Regions from separate parts of the Homo sapiens genome. Here region 1 is linked to region 2. Evidence: promoter capture Hi-C in human tissues and cell types (Jung and others, 2019). All regions are on one chromosome and are shown on one strand. The core of a region is centred on a gene start or on the middle of the fragment in contact, and the rest is flanking DNA. Distances in the headings are between cores, read along the strand shown. Region 1 overlaps ELFN2 (extracellular leucine rich repeat and fibronectin type III domain containing 2). Region 2 holds the start of CYTH4 (cytohesin 4).

Evidence for each region. The method cuts DNA at HindIII sites, captures the fragments that hold promoters and counts their contacts. A contact is called where the count stands out against the background at its distance.
Region 1: a contact is called between a fragment that was not itself captured here and the fragment with the promoter of CYTH4 in region 2, in 3 of the 25 tissues and cell types used here (H1 embryonic stem cells, IMR-90 fibroblasts and adrenal gland).

Annotation. Positions count from the first base shown.
Region 1 is chr22:37,394,178-37,399,921 of GRCh38, reverse strand. The region is part of intron 2 of ELFN2 (extracellular leucine rich repeat and fibronectin type III domain containing 2); the gene reads left to right. Among named protein-coding and RNA genes, the nearest start is that of ELFN2, 30 kb to the left of the region's middle. The HindIII fragment of the contact is 3,845 bases long and covers 856-4,700 here.
Region 2 is chr22:37,281,135-37,286,339 of GRCh38, reverse strand. It overlaps CYTH4 (cytohesin 4), which reads right to left and starts at 3,832. Exons shown (of 13, transcript NM_013385.5): 1 at 3,752-3,832. The coding sequence starts at 3,770. RefSeq lists a silencer at 1,356-1,475 and enhancers at 1,706-1,815, 2,428-2,477, 4,024-4,073. The HindIII fragment of the contact is 18,046 bases long and covers 1-5,096 here.

The DNA of each region.
Region 1 (5,744 bases), core at 1,529-4,028, 110 kb before region 2:
GGTGCTGAGGAAGCACGTGGTCAAGCTCTGCAAGCCCTTCCTTCTTTCATTTACCAGGAGGAGCAAGGCGGCCATGGCGGGGAGGTGGTGGCTGGAGCAAGTGAGTGAGGTGGGAGGTGAAGAAGTGAAGTCTGGGAAGATTTTGGATACTATTCCAATCTCATGGGAGCCAGCAGCCGGTGAGGGCAGAGGCCGGTGGCCCAGGTGTGCGACGCAGGGGGCTCAGTGGGGGTGGGAGAGGTGGGCTGATGGTCCCCGTGGTCGGTGGAGGTGGGAGAGGTGGGCTGGTGGTCCCCGTGGTCGGTGGAGGTGGGAGAGGTGGGCTGGTGGTCCCCGTGGTCGGTGGAGGTGGGAGAGGTGGGCCGGTGGTCCCCGTGGTCGGTGGAGGTGGGAGAGGTGGGCTGGTGGTCCCCGTGGTCGGTGGAGGTGGGAGAGGTGGGCCGGTGGTCTCCGTGGTCTGATCAACTTGCTTGCTGTGCCTCCAGGCACTCAGGGGTGGCACAGGAGGGAGCATGTTTCCTCAGCAGACAGTTCTCAAGGAGCCAGTATGGGCCTGGGCATGAAAAGAGTCCCTGCCCTCAGGAAGCCCACACAGGGGCAGACTTGCCAGCCAGTCCTTACAGGGTGGCTGAGGCCTGGTGGGCTGGAAGGCTTCCTGTAGGAGGCAGCTTTGAGTCCTGCCTGAGAAGTAGCACTCACTGGGCGGGGATGGGACAGGAGGGTACTCCAGGCCGGGGAATCTCAAGGGGAAAGGCCAAGAGCTGCAAAAAGCCTCTCCGAGTTCAGAGAGGGGTAAGAAGCTCACGTGCCCATCCCTGGGAGTGGGGAGGGAGGATCCAGGAGTCTGGGGAGGACACCAGAGGCCCCTGAGCTCCCTCCGGGCCAGGAAAAGGCTGGACGCTGTGTCTTCCAGCAGCAGGGAGCATGTATGTGTTTGGGAACAGGCCAGGTGGATGCTGTGTTCCAGGAAGGAGCTGGTAGGGGAGCTGAGGAATTACAGGGGGTGTTTCTTGGAGGTGCTGTTCTGGGGTTGGGCTGGAGGTGGGAAGGTGGGTAAGGCAGGAGTGGAAGTAGAGGCCCAAGCAAGGGAGGAGCCTAGGAGATCCCGCACCAGCTGGAGAGGTGTACATGTGTGCACATGTGTGCACACATGACATGTGTAGATGCGTGTGTGTGCACGCCTGCGTGTGTGAAGCGGGGAGCAGTTTGTCTTGATGGTATTGGAGGGCACATTGCAGAGACAGAGCCAAGCCAGATCATGAGGGGCCTAAACTGTGGAGCAGAGGAGCTGGGGAGGCGCCAGAGGCTTTAGAGCAGGGCGGCGATGTGAGTGCGCTGCGGGAGGCTTCCTTGGGCTGCTGTGCAGAGGATGGGCTGAGGCAGGGTAGGCGACAGTCAGTTAGGAGACTGCTGTGCTGGGGGGCTTTACTGGGGTAGGGGGAAGGGGCCGGACAGGAGTGGGGTGGTGGAGCCCAGGGCGGCTCAGTGGAAGAGGTAGCATTTGATGAGAATGTAAAGGGTGAGAGGTTTGCTTTCTGGAAGTGGAAGGAGAGGCACGGCAGGTGGCTGGAACAGTCCCTACGAAGGCTTGCAGGAGGGAGAGGCCAGGCTGGAGGCCAGTATATTCAGGGGCCTTTGAGGAATAAAGGGCAGGTTGGAGTCAAAAAATAATGTTGTTTAGTGAGGCCCTCCATGTGCCCGGCACGGTCTACCCAGGCCTGAGCGCTAGCTCCACCGCCCACAGCTGCCTGGCTCTGGGTAAGGCGTTTGACCCTGGCACCTTCATTGTCTATCAAATGGGGACCCTGTTAGACTCAGCCTCCCAGAGTCACTGTGAGGATTAGATGCAATAATCCACCCGCAGCGTGGCCTGGAAGATGTTCGGCTGTTATTGGCTGTGTCCTTACCGTCTCATTTGACACAGCAACCCTGCAGGGCAGCCTCGCACCCCCAGGGACCAGTGCAGACGTCCGCTCAGAGAAGCTGCGCGGGCTGCCGAGGCCACACAGCTGAGGGGAACCGAGCAAGGGTCTGAGTCCAGGTTATGAGGACCCCAGACTTGGTGTTCTTTCCCGGGTGCCCACAGCCTCCCAGAACGCCTGTAAAATGCCCAGCCCGGTAGCTCGTTCCCCTCCTTGTGCTTAGGAAGCTCCTGGATCCAATGTAAGAAGAAGTGGGCAGGAGACCAATGCCGATCTCTGGGTTCAGGTCGGCTGCTTGCTCTTGGAGCCTCAGTTTCCTCATTTGGAAGTGAGAGCCCCACGTCCCCACATAAGAAGGTCACGCGGGGCTCCCACAAGGCCAGCAGAGTCAGCTGACCTTGGGGTCTAGGCGAGGCTTCCAGCAGGGGCTCTGTCCACGTTCCCCCTCCTTTCCCTGTCCCTCTGCACCCGTCTGACCAGACTGTCCTGTGGGCAGGGCCAGCATGGGAGCCATCGTACTGGACGGCTTCCTGATGGTCACAGCAGCCAGAAGGAGCTGGGAGGCCTGGCTGTCATCAGTCATAATAATGGGCACACTCAGCGTGGGTGGGGGTGAGCGAGTGGAGACGGATGCCAGCTGGGAATTACATGCCTGGGGGCCTATGTTGTTCTTTTGTGTTTTCAATTTTCACTCCCTGGGTGCCTTCTCCATGCCAGGCTTCTCACTGGGGGCACTGAGGGGGCACAGAGGGGCACGCCGTGCTTCCTGGCCCTCTGGAGGGGACACAGTGACCCTTCAGTGGGATGCCACTTGGAGCTGGTGAGCATGGGGGTGCTGTGGAGTGGAGTGGTGAAGCCAGACCAGGGATTCAAGGAAGGCTTCCTGGAGGCGGTGATGCCCGAGCTGAAGCTGGTAGGAGTTCACCGTGTTGGTGGTCACCCACCAAGAAGGAGCTTAGGCTCTAGCCCTGGGGCTGCAGGGAGCCCTAGAAAGATTTTGAGCAGGAGAGACAGCATCAGAGCTGCCCTCCGGAAGCCTCCCTCTGCCTGGAAAAAAAGGAGATCCCTGTGAGTGATAGGCAAGTGATGATAGTGGCCTGTCCTGGCATGGACTTGGAGGCTGGTCTGATCTTCATCTTCCAGTGGGAGAGGCAGGAGTTGACGGGAAAGCTGGGATCTGGGCCTGAGCAAGCAGGCAGGCAGTGGTGACCATGACCGAGCGCGATCTGAGCAGCCAGGGGCATGCATGAAGCCACCCTGGAGGAGAGGGCAGACGAGGGTGCCACAGGCCAAGGACAGAGCCTGGAGGAGCAGCAGTGGTTAGTGGGTCGGGGCAGGAAGGGGGCGCCTGGAAGGGAAGGGGGCGTGGCTGGGAGGCCGTAGGGCTCAAGGCTCTTGTCCTCTCTGGGTTCAGTTTCCTCACCTGCTGCATGACAGGGGCCTGGGTAGTGCTAAGGGATCTGCCAGCTCTGACCTCCTTCAAAGTGCCCCAGAGGGTCTGAAAGTAGATGGCACAAGGTGTGCCCGCTGGGGGATCCTGGCACCCAAGCAGCTCTGCTCCTGGGGTTTGGAAATGAGTGCGCTAACAGAGTTGGCTTCTGCAGCATTTGCTGAGCCTCTTCTGCACGCTGGCCCCATGTTGGGGGCCGGGGACATGGTGGGGACACAGCCCTCGTCCCACCCTTGGGGTGTGCAATACAGAAGCACCTAGAAAGCCAGGAGTGTTAGCTCACTTTCAGCAAACCCAATCTGAAAATTCAAGCTTTTGATGGGGAATTGGAGGCTGATACTTAGTTTATAAAATAATTCACAGGAAGCTTTCTTTAAATAGCAAAGTCTCTGGCGCATTTGTCCGTCTGTGAGTTCCTGGCTTGTCTTTGTGTTTTCCACGGTGTGCCTGAAATCCTAGGCTAGGTGCTCATCGGATGTGGAATGTCTGGTTAGCTGGATGCAGCCCCTTCCGGGGGTCTCCAGCCCTCCGGTGGTAGCGGGTCCTCAGAGGTGCTGAGCCTCCCACTTAACCACCAGCTTCGGGTATCTGGGGGCTCAGCTGTGTCCGTGACCCTTCTTCTGGCTTCCTGTTGGGTCTGTGGTGCTTGTGCTGACAGCAGACAGGGACCTGCACCCTGCTTGTCCCCTGAGCCCTGAACAGGTGGCTCCCTGCCCCTCCCACCCTGGGCCTCCCTTGGTGATGCCCTGCACGCCAGACACTAGTTTTGCAGGTCTTTGCAGCCCACGGTGCCAAGCCCAGGACCTGGTGTGTGGTGGGCCCCTGGGTGCACGGATATTGTGCCAGTGCTGACAGGACCCCCAGGTTGTCTTGTCCACATCCCCTGCCCCCCGTGGGTGAGGAAGCCAAGGCCCAGGTAGAGAAGGACTTTGCTCAGCTCCTGGCTGCCACAGAGCCAGCCAAGGGGTGCCTCTCTCCCTAGAGTGCCCCTGACAGCAGAGGAGGCTGGGAAGGAGATCTGGGCAGAGCTAGAGGGGACAACACCTTGGTGTGTCTCAGGCCCTGCCACTTCTTAGCTGTGTGCCTTTGGGAAGTGGCTTCACTGCTCTGGGCCTGATCCCTCGTGTCTCAGATGGGTAGAATAACAGTGCCCGTCTCCCAGGGCCGTGGAGGGGTTTTCATGAAGTGATTGATGTAAATGCCTACTTGGGTCTGGCGTGTGGTCGGCACTCGATTGATGCTCCTTGACTACTTCTAGGACGTTTCTTCTGGTGCTGGAACCAGGCACAGGCAGAGCCAGGTTTGAATCCCAGCCTCACCACTTACCAGCTGTGACGCTGTGAGGCCACTTTGTCTTTCTGAGCCTCCGTTTTCTCATCTGAGAAATTAATCCAACAATATTTATTTATTTATTTATTTATTTATTTATTTATTTATTTATTTTTGAGACAGAGTCTCACTCTGTCACCCAGGCTGGAGTGCAGTGGCGTGATCTTGGCCCACTGCAACCTCTGCCTCCTGGGTTCAAGTGATTCTCCTGCCTCTCAGCCTCCCGAGTAGCTGGGACTACAGGCGTGTGCCCCCTTTCCCAGCTAATTTTTGTATTTTTAGTAGAGACGGGGTTTCGCTATGTTGGCCAGGCTGGTCTCGAACTCCTGACCTCGTGATCCGCCCGCCTCGGCCTCCTAAAGTGTTGGGATTACAGGCGTGAGCCATTGCGCCTGGCCTGACGATCTTTATCTTGACACCCTGTAAGGTCGGGGGTTGGTGTTGAGTTTGCGGCAGCCAACCCAGTGCTCAGTCCCAGGCGAGGAGTGAAGAGTTCTTCATTTACAGCGTATGAGGCACTGTTGACAGTCACCACGGCCCGTAGGATGAAATTGCTGTCTGCACTCGATGGGGGCATTCCTTTAAGCTGCGGGATCGCTCTGCCTACTGTGTGCCGGGGCGGGAGCTGCGGGGGAGGACTCACGGTGCTGGCCACTGCGGCCCCCTGACGGTCCACGGGGGCTGGACACTCACCAAGGAGTCATCCTGGGAGAGGTGAGGCTGCCCGGGAGGAGGGCGGGAGGGAGCCTGGAACAGGCGGCCGGGCCAGGCCCCTGAGGGGCCTTGACCTTCAGGAGGACGTCTGGCTTTAGCCTGGGAACTGTGGAAGCGGCTGAAAGGGTATTAAGAAAGAGGCCTCGGTGAGTCCATAAAAGACAGCACCCGAGCCGAGCAGAGGGAGGGGAGGACCTTGGGGCACACTAGAGACCCTGGGAGGTGGGTGCTGCCATCCAGACAAGCTTGGACGGAGGGGCGGCAGCAGACACACAGGTGTGTGGCCTGGAGAGGTGTCGAGGTGGATGGGAAATGAGAGACGAGGGAGA
Region 2 (5,205 bases), core at 2,583-5,082:
GACGTGAAGTGTCCTGCCAAAGGTGACACAGCTGGAGGGTGGCAGAGCTGGGATTCACATCTGGGTCCATCTGGGGCTCGGAGGCTTACAGCCCTGATGTTGATCTTCCGAAGGCTGATCTCTCCATACGAACCATCAAACACCCGTCGGACGCTAAATCTGGGTTTCTGACGGGGTTACACGTTTCAGAATAAAGGCAAGATGCAGAATGATGCCTGCAGTTGCCCCCACCCAACCCCTGCAAAGCCAACTTTGCAGAGCTGGGGAAACTGAGGCACGGTTCCCAGGGGAGTGGGATTGCATGGGAATAGTGAGCAGGTTGCTTGTATTTTTACTGCATACAGCTCCTTTCATACTCCCTTCTGGTTGACAAGTGTGTTCGTGAATCCTCAGTCCCCTGTCCCCTTCTGACGGGGGTCCTGTCCCGAATAGGTGGCAACTGGTCAAAGCATCTGAACCCACATGAGGGTGATGATGGCCCCGGGCTTGCTGTGTCTTACATGGTGCACACGGAGCCTACTGACCCTTCCTCTATTTGTTAAAAAGAGGAGATTCCTCCCCATTTCAGAGTTTCAGGCACCGGTGTAGGCTCATGGGATATGTTTTTTTGTTTGTTTGTTTGTTTGTTTGAGACGATGTCTCTGTCTGTTACCCAGGCTGGAGTGCAGTGGCCTGATCTCGGCTCACTGCAACCTCCACCTCCCAGGTTCAAGTGATTCTCCTGCCTCAGCCTCCCAAGTAGCTGGGATTACAGGCGCCCACCACCAGGCCCGGCTAATTTTTTTTTGTATTTTTAGTAGAGACGGGGGTTTCACCATGTTGGCCAGGTTGGTCTCGATCTCCTGACCTCTGGTGATCCACCTGCCTTGGCCTCCCAAAGTGCTGGGATTATAGATGTGAGCCACCATGCCTGGCCAGGAGATGAATTTTTAAATACTAATAATAATACACACAAATAATAAAATTACCACCACCACCACCACCACCACACACCCCGTTTCCTTCTCACTTATCTCTGTGCTTCTCACAACCTCACAAGGTGTGACATGAACCCCCACCCCAAGCCCACAGGCTGGTGCTGCCCTTGCGCCCAGGCTGGTGAATGTGCCCATCTCCCCGGCTCCTCCCCACTTCCTCTTTGTCCTTCCTCTTTCCCATCGTATTTTTAGAAATCTTTGAGCTTGCAGCCCTGCTTCCAGGACAGCTGGCCTCACTTCCCCTTTCCAGGGCAGGAGGAGGATGCCATCTCAGGGCCCTAAATAAAGAGGCCCCTCAAAGTCTCAGTAGGAGGGACCCTGGGGCAGAGGGGGTGTGGGTGGAGCTGCTCCCCGCCCCAGCCCCACAAGCCCCACAGGCTCTGCGGAGTGCGGCTTCCTCCCCCGCCGCCCCCCCACCGCCCCAGCCGAGCTGGCTCTATTTTTAACTGCGCTGCCTGTCTTCTCTGCACCAGCACAGTGCTTGTCTTTGGCCACACTGGGGCTTTGCTGTCTGGCCCTCTCACCTTCCCGGCAGGCCCTGGGGGAGGGCGCCTTACCTGCTTCCCGACACAGGCCCACCTCAGGAGAGGAGGGGAGGCAGCCCTGGGGGCCCCTGAGTCACCAGCCTGTCCATAATAAAGGTGAGAAAACTGAGGCCCATAGAAGGAAGAGACCATGACCACTGGCAGGGTGGTGCAGAGCTGGAACCTGAGCGAGGTCCGGCTAACTCCCAATCCCCGCTTCCCCAGGCCAGGCCAGGATGATGGCACCCACGTAGAGATGACAAATCAGAACTCAGAGAGGGGAAGTCACCGTGCCATGAAGAAGCCCCATTTAAGACCCAGTCTGGGCAACAGGGAAATGACCTTTTCTCCCTCCCTCTGGCCTCCTCCTCAAGGAGGTCTTCCCAGATCTCCTCTGCCCCAGTGGGAAAAGTTGCTTCCTCCCATCTGTAGGTCTGTGTCCATTTGCACAGCTGGGTCAGGGTCCTGCAGGATGTGGCTCCTGCCTCTCCACCCCACCCCCAACATTCCAGACCAACACCTGTCCCCCAGGGTTAGGCCCATGGCTGGGTCACTGCTGTCCCCAGCACTGCATAGCACACTGGAAGGTCGTTTGTAGAGTGAATGAATGAAAAGACCAACTACTCGATGGAGAACCCATTGACCCCATTTAATCCATTTCCTCCCTAGTACCGGCTGAAGCAAAGCAGAGACTCCCCTCCCCTGCCCTCTCCATAGCCCCGGCCAACCTGGGGCTCTCTCCCGCAGGTTCTCGTCCCTGCTCTGCTGCTGACTGGCCGTGTGACCTCAAGCAAGTCAGTCCCCGTCTCTAGTTCACCTCTGGGAGCCTCAGTTTCCTTATCTGCAACATGGAGACAGCCATCCCTGTAACCTCAGTATGTTAGGACCCGAAAGGACAAAGCGCCCTGCTGGACACACAGGCAGGGGGGTTGCATCTCGGTGGGTGCCCTCCCCCCCTCATCCCACCCTCATGTCTGCTGAGAGGCCTGAGCCAGGTGCTGCCCTTCGCTGGGTCTCCCTGTGCCAACCAGGTGCCCCCAAGCTGTGCTCACTGAGCTGTGATTTTGGGAGCCCCCAAAGCCCATGGGAGAGGCAGGGGTCAGAGTGAGCCCTGGATAGGGATTCAGGGAACAGGATTTGGTCCTGCTCCTGCCTTAGAGAGGCTGTTTTCCTCCCTTGGCCTCTTTTCTCCCTTCTGCCACTGGGGGGGCTGTTGAAATGGATCAGTGGTTCTCTGGGTTCCCTGGGGCCCGAGGCTTCCATCTGGGGGTGGGGAGGAAGGGGGATGCCCAGTGGGCGGGGCCAGGCTGCTCCACATTAGGTGCGTTTGAAGCAAGGGTGCTCCTGGACAAGGCTGAGGTCATCTGGACCTGGGGAGCAGACAGCTCCCACGAGCCCTTAGGTTCTGGAATTCCAGCAGCCGTGTTCACCAGAACTGTTGCAGCTCTGGAGCATGCTGACATCCAGGGTGCAGAAACTTGGCCCCTCTACCGGGCCTTCAATTTGCCTCCCAAAACACGACCCTGATGTTCTTTTCCTCACCATCTTTGCAGCCTCCTTTCTCCTCTTTCTCCCCAGACACATTGTCTTAGTAGCTGGGGAGGGTTTCAACCAGAGCCTCTGTTGCTCACTCCTGGCCCTCCCCTGGCTCTAGGCAGCGTCCTCAGCCTCCCCAAAGACCACCCCAACCCCCGGGGGCCAAAAAGGGGCCTCAAGGCCCTTGTATCACCCAGACAAGCATCGCCATCACCAACATCCCATCATCATCTTAATCGCAAGTCACTTTTCTGAGTCCACCTCTGAGCCTTTGGACTGGCTGTTCCTTCTGGCTGGAATGTTTGTTCCTTAGAAAGCCCCTTAGCTGACATCTTCCTCAGGTCCCTCATCAGACAGCATCTCCTCTTGGGGCCTTTTCCACCATGCATTCCTGTCTTCCTTACCCTGCTTTACTGTTCTTCATCCTACCTGCCATCAACTGACATATGGAATCACATTAGAGTCACTGCCGGTCTCCTCATCTAGAGCACAAGCCTATGAAGGGGGAAACAGCGTCTGCTTTGCTACTGCTGTGTGTCCAGCCCCTAGAACGCAACTGGACACACAGGCTGAGCCCACAAATGTTTGCTTCTTGCAGCTGCATTTCCCACCTGCGCTGTATTCCTTTATCTAGGACCCTGTGAGGCAGGGGCTGCTGTCCCATTCTAAAAGAGAGCACCCTGAGGCCCAGAGAGGTTGACGGCAGTTGCTTACCTGGGTGGCACAGGTCCATTCCGACGCCTCTGGGGAAAAGATGACCCGTGCTCCTGTCGCTTGCCGACCCAGCTGCTGTTCGGGCTGGCCCGGCAAGGATGCGTCACCTTGACTGTAACAGGCTCCTTCCTGCTTGCCCCGCCCAGCCCTGTGTGGGGAGGAAGTCAGTCCTGGCCCACGGGGGTCTCGTGTGCAGGCTTTTGACAAAACAGCACTTCCTAAAAACTGGCAGAGTTTTGAGCAGCAGGGACTTTTGCCAGGGAGGGACAGAGGTGGAAACAAACAAACAAACAAACAAACAAACAGATGAAGTGAGGGGAGGGCCAGATAAAAAAGAGAAAGACAGTGAGACAGAAAGAAACACACAGACACATATGCACATACACACGTACACATGCACAGACACCGAGGGCGATGTTCACTGAGGACGAACATTTTCCAGGGGACCATGGGCATTCACGTGGCAGCCTCCTCACATATATGCCATAGGAGCGCCCAACTTGGACAGTCCTAGCAGGGCCCCCTGTGTTCCACCCCACAAGCTCTCTTCCAACTCCCACTTGAGAAGAGACAAATGAATTCACTGCTAGGAAGGGCTTTGCTTCCCTTCAAAGAAATATCTGGCTTTTTCTTGTCTAGTGAACAATCGGGTAATATGTTCCACTTTCCTTCTCCCCCAGGCTGCTGGGAAACTCATCGTCAAATCCAAAGCTCATCGACAGCTATTCTATGATGTCATGTGAACTTTGGGGCCTGACTCAGCTGTTTGACTCTCAGCTAGGGCTAGTCAGCCTCGCTTTGCTTATCTCTGAAAGGGGAATAACACTAACTCGGGGATATGGAAACCATGGAGTGAGAGGATGTGTCGGAGATGCTTGGGACATAGTAGGTGCTCAATAAACACTTTCTCCTTTGATTTTAATTATCTTCTTTGGTTAAAATGTATCATGTTATTCCTTGTGCCTTTTCTGGCAGGTTGGTTCAAATCCTTTCTGCAAAAAGCTTTGCTGTAAAGAAACAGGTATAAATTAAATGTGAATTCCCTATAACTTCAGGACACATGCAGAGTTATTCATCTGTTTCCCCATTACTCTCCAGGCCCCATGAGGGCAAGGTTACCTTTTGTGTTCTGGTGTGTGGTAAAATGCTGGGGACATAGAGGGTGTGCAAGTGTGGAATGAATGAACAAATGAATGAATGAATGAATGAATGAAGGGAACATGGAAGAGATCACGGCCGATGTGAAAGCTAGCTACAAGTTCACCTCCTTTTCACTATGCCGCCGCTTCTGCTGTCAAGGGGCGAAGTCCATTTCTCCTTCCTTGGAAGCTGAGCTGGCCTTGGGCATCTCTTTGACCAATAGCACGTGGCAGAAATGATGTGCCGTGATGTTCGAGGCTGAGCTTTAAAAGGCCTTGCAGCTCCTGCTCTTGCTCTCAGCCCCCTGCCTGGCT